Regions from separate parts of the Homo sapiens genome. Here all the other regions are linked to region 2. The links are contacts of gene promoters, found by promoter capture Hi-C in human tissues and cell types (Jung and others, 2019). All regions are on one chromosome and are shown on one strand. The core of a region is centred on a gene start or on the middle of the fragment in contact, and the rest is flanking DNA. Distances in the headings are between cores, read along the strand shown.

Evidence for each region. The method cuts DNA at HindIII sites, captures the fragments that hold promoters and counts their contacts. A contact is called where the count stands out against the background at its distance.
Region 1: a contact is called between a fragment that was not itself captured here and the fragment with the promoter of CAPZA3 in region 2, in 5 of the 25 tissues and cell types used here (bladder, dorsolateral prefrontal cortex, lymphoblastoid cells and 2 more).
Region 3: a fragment that was not itself captured here is called in contact with the fragment with the promoter of CAPZA3 in region 2 in 2 of the 25 tissues and cell types used here (dorsolateral prefrontal cortex and mesenchymal stem cells).
Region 4: a contact is called between a fragment that was not itself captured here and the fragment with the promoter of CAPZA3 in region 2, in 7 of the 25 tissues and cell types used here (adrenal gland, bladder, dorsolateral prefrontal cortex and 4 more).

Annotation. Positions count from the first base shown.
Region 1 is chr12:18,604,232-18,606,931 of GRCh38, forward strand. The region is part of intron 30 of PIK3C2G (phosphatidylinositol-4-phosphate 3-kinase catalytic subunit type 2 gamma); the gene reads left to right. Among named protein-coding and RNA genes, the nearest start is that of PLCZ1, 130 kb to the right of the region's middle. The HindIII fragment of the contact is 5,439 bases long and covers 1-2,700 here.
Region 2 is chr12:18,736,840-18,739,539 of GRCh38, forward strand. It overlaps CAPZA3 (capping actin protein of muscle Z-line subunit alpha 3), which reads left to right and starts at 1,280. Exons shown (of 1, transcript NM_033328.3): 1 at 1,280-2,349. The coding sequence starts at 1,430. The coding sequence ends at 2,329. It overlaps PLCZ1 (phospholipase C zeta 1), which reads right to left and starts at 1,173. Exons shown (of 15, transcript NM_033123.4): 1 at 1,093-1,173; 2 at 522-670. The coding sequence starts at 532. The HindIII fragment of the contact is 1,043 bases long and covers 693-1,735 here.
Region 3 is chr12:18,553,965-18,556,664 of GRCh38, forward strand. The region is part of intron 26 of PIK3C2G (phosphatidylinositol-4-phosphate 3-kinase catalytic subunit type 2 gamma); the gene reads left to right. Among named protein-coding and RNA genes, the nearest start is that of PLCZ1, 180 kb to the right of the region's middle. The HindIII fragment of the contact is 3,052 bases long and covers 1-2,700 here.
Region 4 is chr12:18,887,254-18,889,953 of GRCh38, forward strand. No RefSeq gene overlaps it. Among named protein-coding and RNA genes, the nearest start is that of CAPZA3, 150 kb to the left of the region's middle. The HindIII fragment of the contact is 5,934 bases long and covers 1-2,700 here.

The DNA.
Region 1 (2,700 bases), core at 21-2,520, 130 kb before region 2:
CAGGGTTAGCTATTCTTATATCAGACAAAACAAACTTTAAAGCAACCACAGTTAAAAGAGACAAAGAGGGACAGTATATAATGGTAAAAAGCCTTGTCCAACAGGAAACTATCACAAACCTAAACATATATGCACCTAACACTGGGGCTCCCAAAGTTATAAAACAATTACTAAAAGACCTAAAAAATGAGATAGACAGCAACACAATAATAGTAGGGGACTTCAATACTCTGCTGACAGCACTAGACAGGTCATCAAGACAGAAAGTCAACTGAGAAACAATGAATTTAAACTATACCTTGGAGCAAATGGACTTAACAGATATATCTAGAACATTTCATCCAGCAACCACAGAATACACATTCCACTCAACAGTGCCTGGAACTTTCTCCAAGATAGACCATATGACAGGCCATAAAATGAGCCTCAATAAAGTTAAGAAAATTGAAATTATATCAAACACTCTCTCAGACTACAATGGATTAAAACTGAAAATCAACTCCAAAAGGAACCTTCAAAACCACACAAATACATGGAAATTAAATAACCTGCTCCTGAATGAGTGTTGGGTCAAAAATGAAACCAAGATGGAAATTAAAAAAATTCTTTGAACTGAATGACAGTAATGACACAACCTATCAAAACCTCTGGGATACAGCTAAGGCTGTGCTAAGAGGAAAGTTCCCAGCCTGCCTACATCAAAAAGTCTGAAAGAGCACACACACAATCTAAGGTCACACCTCAAGGAACTAGAGAAACAAGAACAAGCCAAACCCACACTCAGCAGAAGACAGGAAATAACCAAGATCAGAGCAGAACTAAATGAAATTGAAACAAAAAAATTACAAAAGATGAATGAAACAAAAAGCTGGTTCTTTGGAAATACAAATAAAATTGATAGACCATTAGCAAGATTAACCAAGAAAAGAAAGAAAATCCAAATAACTTCATGGAGAAATGAAACGGGAGATATTACAACAGATACCACTGAAACACAAAAGATCATTCAAGGGTACTATGAACACCTTTACACACATAATCTAGAAAACCTAGAAGACATGGATGAATTCCTGGAAAAATACAACCCTTGTAGCTTAAATCAGGAATAATTAGATACCCTGAACAGACCAATAATAAGCAGTGAGATTAAAATGGTAGTTAATAAATTACTGACCAAAAATCCAGGATCAGATGGATTCACAGCAGAATTCTATCAGACGTTCAAAGAAGAATTGGTACCAATCCTTTTGACACTATTCCACAAGATAGAGAAAGAAGGACCTCTCCCTAATTCATTATATGAAGCCAGCATTATGCTAATACCAAAACTAGGACAGGACACAACCAAAAAAGATAACTACAGACCTATATCCTTGATGAACACAGTCATCCTTAAAATTAAAAATATTTTAACAGCTCTTGGGGTGACTATAAATGGTTAATCTAAGCATAGTTGAATCCCTCAGACTAACTTGAAGCAGAAGACCAAAATATCTTAGCGTCTTCTTGAACATATTAAGCTATTCACAAATGTCCCTCTTGAGTTCATTTAACCTGTTTTTCTTATGTTGTAGCCGCCTTTCTTGACTCTCTACAGCATGGTGCTTATAAACCAGGCGCTTATAAACACAGGCTTTGGAGATCACTTAAACCTGCACCGTTTATTGTCTCTATGACCTTGGACCAAGTGCCTGAGTTTCCTCATGTGTAAAATGGAGATAATACAAATTTCATAGATTTGCTATGATGATTGAATGCGTTACTGTACATAAAGCTCTTAGCCTGGCATACAGTCAAAGCTACAGAAATAATAAGCCTCTCTACTCCTACTGCTACATTGACTACTGAGTGTCAATTCCTAGTGGTGTGAGTTTTCACTGGGTTCTGAACTCCGGCATGTTTTGATGGACACTTTAGTTACTAATCTTGAGCAAGAGGTGGAGGGAGAACTATCATCTTCAGTCAGTTCAAGTGGCAATTGTACTTTTACTATTTAGGCAGTCAATCACAAATTTATGCTAATTTTCTACCTTTGAATTAAAACTTCTCTGATTAAATACATTGGCTGTCTACTTAACAATTCTTCCACTCTTTAATTCAAATATAATGTTCGTTGTGCCTCAAAACGTCATCAGCATTTTTAGCACCTTTATACCAAACATCTTTTTATTATGAAATGCAATTTACTTCAGTCTTACTAAGAACTATCTCATAGTATCTCTGTGTTAGTCTATATAGTCTCTCCCAGTTAGTGTAATCAAGATATTATAAGTGATTTTTTCTTATATTACCATTGCAATTGTAAAAAACATCCTTTTCAATGTCACAAATCCATATTATTAACAATAAAATTAATATCACCTCATACAATGTATAAATTATTCAAATAAACATGTAGAAGGCTTTGAAAAGTTATATATTTGAAAATTATACTGATCAGGTGTAACTACACTGCTCAGGTATAATTTTCAAATCTTAGAGAAGATTAGAAAGTTAAGATTGACTTTCTGATGACCATTGACAAATTCTTTGTTATTAATAAATTGATCTCTAAATTACCCCAGATAACATACAACCAAAGATTATAAGGGAAATATTAGTAAAACTATAAATTATGTTTAATCCTTGGGAAGTAAACAATAAATTTTTAATTAAAAAAACTAAATTTCTCATTTTAACGATGTTGCGATACAAATCAAA
Region 2 (2,700 bases), core at 30-2,529:
GATAAAGTTATTATTACTACATTAGTCCAATGCCCAGCTACACACACACTCAAGACAGTACCATCAAAAAGCATCAGAAATACCATGGTGAGTGTATATTTGGTATGAAAAACGAAAAAAATTTTTAAAAGCTTACTTATCATAGATAAACTACAAAAACTAGGACACTTCCATTTGAAAAACTAAGATCGAAATGAGATAATGACAATTATCACTAAAATTATAAAAGGTATAGGTAAAAATTGTGCAAAACTACTAAGTTTCAGATTGTTAGAACGAATTAATGAGATCTCCTTAAATTTAATAGTTATGACTTAATCCAGCAAAGCTCATGTTCTTGTAAGAAAAAGATACCAGAATGCAGGGAAAGTTAGAAAAGCTCAGAACAAACAGGGAAAAGCAGTTCAACTTAAATGAAGAGGACTTAAATTCAGAACTCCTCGAAAAGAATAACAGCATCAAGTAAAGAGGATAAGTAGGAGAAAGAAGAAGAGGAGCAGAAAGAAGCTCTCAATGGATATCTCATTTCCATAGTTTCATGACCTGTAGAGCCGTTTCTCCTCACTTAGAAGTCTTTCCCCAGTAGGTGCTGTCATGGGTTCCAAATACAATTAACTCTGCCCCTTTGCAGAAAATAATTTCTTGATACTCATCAGCTGTTACCACTTTTCTAGGGAGAAAGCAGAGAACACACAGTGGTTTTTTTTGCCTTCGTTCTTTGAAGCTAGCTCACACTTAACCATAGAAACAGTATGCAAGATGTGGTACCTGCACTACCCTGCCCTTGAAACTGTTTGGCTTCTTACGTTCTGACCACCTCCAAACCCACAATATTTGAAAACACAGCTTTCCCTGATGTCTGGCATTTTTCCATGAACTGCCATTGTATCTCCTTTTATTTTTTACTACTTTGTTTAAACCCCTCAAACCTTTCATCATAATATGCTTCCAGTGGGTTTGGGCAGCTACTCTGAGAGCCTGAGTATAAATCAACACCATTGTGATTCCTGAAGTTGCAAAGTGCTGTCACTCTTGAAACTTTGGGCTGCTTCTCTAGATCGTTGACAACATATAATGCACACAGAGACACACCACTTTCGAAGAAGACTGTTCAGGAGGCTAAGTTCTTAAAATCTTCAAAAGAGGTATAGCTGGTTGGCTGGGCACCACACTGTCAGGTGACTGTCATTTTTTCCTTTTGGTCTGAATTCCCATTGTGATATCATCAGAGGTTCCACACTTCACAAGGAAAGCTTCTTATGACCTCATCAGGAGGCTCAGACCTTGCCAGACTGCCTGCTTTCATGGATAGACATAAAAACCTTCAGCTTGAATGTTAACACCTTGATGGGAAAGGTGGCTCATGGAATGTTTTCTTATCCTTTGAACACTCCTCATTTCAGAAGCTTTGCTTCTGTTGCAACCAAACATGACACTTAGCGTGCTGAGCAGGAAGGACAAGGAAAGAGTAATTCGCAGACTGTTATTACAGGCCCCTCCAGGGGAATTTGTAAATGCCTTTGATGATCTCTGTCTGCTTATCCGTGATGAAAAACTTATGCACCACCAAGGTGAGTGTGCAGGCCACCAACACTGCCAAAAATATTCTGTACCACTCTGCATCGATGGAAATCCAGTACTCTTGTCTCACCACAATGTAATGGGCGACTACCGATTTTTTGACCATCAAAGCAAACTTTCTTTCAAATATGACCTGCTTCAAAATCAGCTGAAAGACATCCAAAGTCATGGTATCATTCAGAATGAGGCAGAATACCTGAGAGTTGTTCTTCTGTGCGCCTTAAAACTGTATGTGAATGACCACTATCCAAAAGGAAATTGCAACATGCTGAGAAAAACTGTCAAAAGTAAGGAGTACTTGATAGCTTGCATTGAAGATCACAACTATGAAACAGGAGAGTGCTGGAACGGACTTTGGAAATCTAAATGGATTTTCCAAGTTAACCCATTTCTAACCCAAGTAACGGGAAGAATATTTGTGCAAGCTCACTTCTTCAGGTGTGTCAACCTTCATATTGAAATATCCAAGGACCTGAAAGAAAGCTTGGAAATAGTTAACCAAGCTCAACTGGCTCTAAGTTTTGCAAGGCTTGTGGAAGAGCAAGAGAACAAATTTCAAGCTGCAGTCTTGGAAGAATTACAGGAGTTATCCAATGAAGCCCTGAGAAAAATTCTACGAAGGGATCTTCCAGTGACCCGCACTCTTATTGACTGGCACAGGATACTCTCTGACTTGAATCTGGTGATGTATCCTAAATTAGGATATGTCATTTATTCAAGAAGTGTGTTGTGCAACTGGATAATATAAAGAATTGCTCCTGGTAACTATCTTGATTTGACTTGTTTGTGTTTCTTGGGAATGGTTATTTTCCTAAAATTGAGCAATCTGTAGAGATGTCTCTCACTTAGCCAATGCAAATTTAAATGGGAAAAGTGTAGCAAGTAATTTTACTTGGGGAATATTTATGAACAAGGCAAGAAAGTGTAAAGTAACTGTGTTTCATGGTGGTGACCATCATAAAGACCAAGACATTTGTTAGAAACTAAAATAGTTTTATAGAATCTGGGATTCCAGAAATAGTATAGAGGTGGCCAGGGTTAAGGCTGTGTGTGGGTGTGTACGTGTGTGTGTGTGTGTGTGTGTGTGTGTGTGAGAGAGAGAGAGAGAGAGAGAGAGAG
Region 3 (2,700 bases), core at 127-2,626, 180 kb before region 2:
TGGGAAATGGCATGGCTTAGCAATCAGTTATGTTTTATAAATACAGCAATTGAGTCTCCTGAAGTCATTCAACAATGACTTTCTTGAGATCACTGGCATGAGTCACCAACTGCATTTTATAGATGCAACAGTTGAATATCCTAAAATTGTTCAACAATTACTTTCTTGAGATCATGGGTAGACCTAGTGAGTACAGATTAGAACAAGGTTTATTTCTTGCATAATGAGCGCTCTTCCCAGGACACAACTATGCCAAATCATGTGGAAAAAAGTTCTGCATATGGAACTCTTAATGTCCTGACTGTCAGATAAATATAAATGTTCTTTAACTTTAGTGTCTTCAGATTAGTTGAAAGACCATCATAAGAAAAACATCTACATGCTTATAGCTGTGTTTCTCAAATTGGCATACCACGCTATCAAAGCCCCAAGGATTCATGTGACATATCCTTTTTAGTATCTTATTTTGTTTAAAGGATTAGAATATAAACTGTAAAGTTTGGAGTCAAATGTGTACCTACACATTACATACATGTGCAACCAAAATCATCATGTGCTTTTTCCATGTGTGCAATTTTGAATTTTTAAGAATAAAAGTGCATAGAAATGAATTGTTTTATCATGTACCCAGAATACATTAGCAATGATTGTCACTGAGCTCATTTAGGAATAGTAAATTTTTTTGCTTAAAAAATATGTGTTTGAATACTTAGTGCAGTATGAATTTGTAGTAAAATAGGAATTATCCGAAAGCATACTCATAAGCTTAAGTAAAAGAAAGCACTGGTCATATATTTCAGAGATTACAAATTCAATGCCGAACTACTGATTTTCTTTATGCGATAAAAGAAACTATGACAAAGTTTTATTAATTCATTGTTCCCCTTGAATGATTAAGAGTGACTTGTAAAGCTGGACACTCAGTCAGTAACTTCAATACAAAAAACAAAGTAATGTGTTTCTTGCACATGCCAGAATACTGCAATGAAATGAAGTTTGAGATTTAGATGAAGAAATTTGTTCATGGGGAGTCAGTCAATTGCAACTCTTCCTGTATTTATATATTATGAACTTACAGTATCAGTGGTAAAATAAAGAATGTTCTCATGCAAATTCCTTCACAGAAGCCTTATGAGAAATATTTTCCTGTGACTATTAAAGAGACTGACCATTGAAACAGTTATTCTATCCAACTGCCAAATATATGAACAATTTAAACTGTAAATTGAAATACGCTGTCATAGAAATCTCCATCAGGTGTTGCCTAAGAACCTTGGTTCAACTGCCAATGGCATCGTAGTCATCTCTCCTCAATGCTTAGTCTGATGTAGCTCATAAAGCAGCGAAAAATGTTTGCCATTTGTAGTCACATATCAACATAAATGTGAATTTATATTTAATTTGAGAAAAAATAATCTGCCTAGATGCTGAACCTGACACAGAAGATCAGAGCTCTGGATTCAACTCAGTTTTCTGAGACTGATAGACTCAATTGCCCATTCACACACACAGTGCTAAGAAACCTGTTAGAAGCAATTGTTTCTGATGATAAGCAATTAAAATATTTAGTTTGTATAAAAAGTGCATGTATTATGAAGTAGAATACAATGTATACACATTTTTTAAGATAGGACCTAAGGCTTAAGAAATTTTATGCTTATTATAGGTCCCTTTAGACTATGTTCCTTGGCAGCTAGAAATATGTTACATTTTTTTTACCTAAGGGTTATTTCTATGTAAAAATCAAAGGTTCATTGTCTTAGTACCTTTGATCCACCTGAGAATTCCACAAGTTATTGGCTTATTTTTCTCTGAAAGACAAAATTGAATTATTGTTTGCTTTTTAAAATCCACAGTGAGAGCAAAGACTAAGGAATCAGATAAACATGAGTAGAATTCTTCAGTTACTACTTCTTAGTTGATGTCACCTTTGGTATGCATTTAACTTCTCCTGGTCATTTTCTTATCTATTGCTGAAATAATTGGACTGCTCTTCTCTAAGGATGAAAAGATTAACATGAAGCATTTAGTGTACTACCTGCCAAGGGATATATACTTCCTCAGGGCAGAAATTTGGTTTCTCTTCTTTACCTCCCAGCACATAGAATAGTGCCTAGCAAGGGAGAGTTAAAAGTGTTTATCAAGACTGCTTGGAGACTTCCCTTAGGAAACTTAAGAGCTAAAATCCTCCCAGCTGCTGCTTTATTCCTGTAATATAAGGATAATCCAAAGCATAATCCTGCTAATGCTGCCATTAAACAAAATAAATCAGGGAGCTATTACTTGGATAAATTAGATCCTCACAGAGGCCTGAAACCGACTACACTCAGAGCCCCAGTCCCAAGTCCAATTACAGTTAACAGCACTGTTTTGTCTGACCCGTTAAGTCTGACACCTGAGAGATAGGAGATGGATTTGAGTGAAAGTCTGCCCCCAAACCATGGGCTGACCATAAAGTCTCACCCTTCATCTTCAGACTTCTTACATCCTAACTGTTGGGCAATGTAAGAATAAGGTATGGGCATAGTTGAGATTTTTGTGAGGGTGAGTTCATCAAAACTTAACATTTATGATTCACAAAACTTAAAACTGATATCTTCATGAGAAGTGAGTGCATGCTGTCACCCTAAAGCTTTTCACTCCAGCAAATAAAATGTGTTCAGTAAATGTTTGTTGGATCGATGTTCAATGAATGAATGG
Region 4 (2,700 bases), core at 44-2,543, 150 kb after region 2:
TTCTGGTGATTATTATAGAAAACCTGAGAACTACCACAACTGGTTCTCTTTCTTTATCCTTCTTTCATACTTTATTCAGTAGTTTCTTAAAATAAATATTGAAGGAATATTCAAAGAATGGCAGTTTGAAGAATTACTGAATTCTTATAGCCATCCACAGAGCTCCCATGTCTTAGCTGGGCTCTGCCTCCGCTGTCCTCACCACAGCATGAACAGATTAAGATATGCCAGGTAGCCCCTATAAACCATGTCACCTCACCTCTAGTATGAGGCTATAGAAAAAGAAAAAAGAAAAAAAAAAGCATGTCTCCATCCCTACGTCAGTGTCACACATGCCAGGAACTCGGCAACACTCTGCTTAGAAGATTTAACACCACATTAAATAAACACTACACTGAGATTTTAATTTCAAAAGTACTTTCTTGAAAAACAGCTATGTGACTAGCACCATTTTAAGTATTACGGAGGCTGCTATTAGAAATAAATGGCATGGTCCTTCCCATCAAAGAGCATAGAATCTGCTTAGAAAAACAAGCTTAGAGTAAGCCTTTAAAGTAAACCTCCAGCAAATCTTGGTCCACGCAGTTACAAGCCTTTGCTCTTGAACTGGCACTTGGGAAATATAGAGAATTATTATAGGAATGGATCTCCATTTTGTGAGTGTGTGTGTGTGTGTGTGTGTGTGTGTCTTAGACGTGGAACTTCTCAGATACATATAGTCACCTCATGGCCAAATTATAAAGACACAGGATTCAAAATATTTAACAGAAGGCAAACTTCCTCTGCAGAGATGGGAGAAAGAGCCTGTGTACACAGTTGCAAAATGAAAGGGAGGAAAAGATTCCCTCAGAAGCGTAATCATGCTGGACCCCCTGCCTGGATAATTCAGAGAGAGCTGAGAAAACTATTTCTTCAATTTTGCCATTTTTAGATAAATTAGCAGGATAATTGCCTTGACTCCACTCTTTCCCCGGTGGGTGGAGACACAGCTGGGCTAAGAGTAGAGGCCAAGCCAATCTGAATCCAAATGAAGGGTGAATCACAGTAGGGTTGAATAATAATCCCCTGCTCTCTGCCTCTGCTCTTCTTGTAACCTGCTTCTAGATAAGACCTTTGTCTTTGGGCTGGGATATAATTAAAGCTTGTCAAAACATCCTTCCCATTTCCCTATACACAATTGCCCTCTGTATTATGTTTTATATTAATTTATCCAGATGCTTTAAAAAATTCCCATGTACAATTTTTGAATAATTTTTGAAAAGATCTGTATTCTTCATAACCAAAGCTTTATTTCTAGCTATACACAGCATTTGCCTTCATCTGCATGGCTCTGCTGCAATCTATAGTCCACTGTCTTCATTCATTCATTCATGTTTGTTGACTAAACTAATTCATAAATGTGTGTTGAATGAGAGAGTGAGTGAATTTCTGAGAAAACATGAATTTGCGGGGGAGGGGTCAGGCAGAATGAGGTGATTTGAATGTATCCCCCTTTAAATTTCAGGTGTTGCCAATGCGGTAATGTTGGGAGGCAGGATTTTTGACAGGCGACTGGGCTATGTGGGCTCATCGCTTGTGGGCGAGATTGAACGCCCTTGTAAGAGGACTTGGCAAAAGGAGTTCTTCCTTTCTCACCCTCCCAGCTTTTTCCATGTGAAAATACAGCATTCTTCCCTGCTGGAGGATGCAACCCTGACCAGACACCAAATGCCTGTGCCTTGTTCTAGAGCTTCCAGCCTCCAGGACTGTCAGAAATAATTTTCTGTTCTTTGTAAATTACCCAGTCTCAGGTACTGTGTTATAGCAGCACAAACAAAGACAGGGGTATTCAACAAATACGATTGTGTAGACACATTTTATAGTATCAGCATGGTCTGGATTTTGAGTCACCTTGTCTTATACTCTGAGGTTGAACTCCATGACATTCACTTAAATGGCAAAATGCTGTAAACATGTATATATGAACCGAAGTGAATTTGTACTTACATCTTGATGCCTAACTTTCCTGGCAGTATTAGTATTTGTTATTTTTTTCTAAACCACCTTCAGTGTATATGTCTCCAAACATAAATGTTCAATATTCAATATCACACATGTAGTCATTCATCATTTCATAAAATTATGAAATCGAGAAGAATCTCTGTTGCCCATTGCCAATGTATTATACAGTCTGTGTACTCTTCATAACCAAGGCTTTATTTCTAGCTGTACACAGCATTTCCCTTCATTTGCATGATGCTGCTGTAATCTACAGTCTACACTATTACCAATGTATATGCAATTATGCTACACTATAGCACAATTTTTATATAATGTACTATTTTCAATCTCTGTTGTTTGCTGAGTATATTTTCCTGATATGCTTTCCTTCTATGGGTTTAGAGTTTTATAGTTGTTGCCTATTATTTCTGAGTGTGGTCGAAGTAGACAGGTTTTCTGTGTACTTATCAGTGTTTATGATGTCTTCTAAGATAACATCATCAGTCAATCTGGAATGTTTCTCTAACACTTAAACTTCACTAAAAATTTGAGGGAATGATTACTATGCCCCTAATTCTAACTAGAGCATATGTTCTAGCCTGAGCTAAACAACTGATTCAGAAGGCTTTAAAATATTTCAAATGATATAAATAACCCTCAAGGATCATAATTGGCAACTTTGCTTCTAGATATAATGGCAAATAATAAAAAGTAAAACCT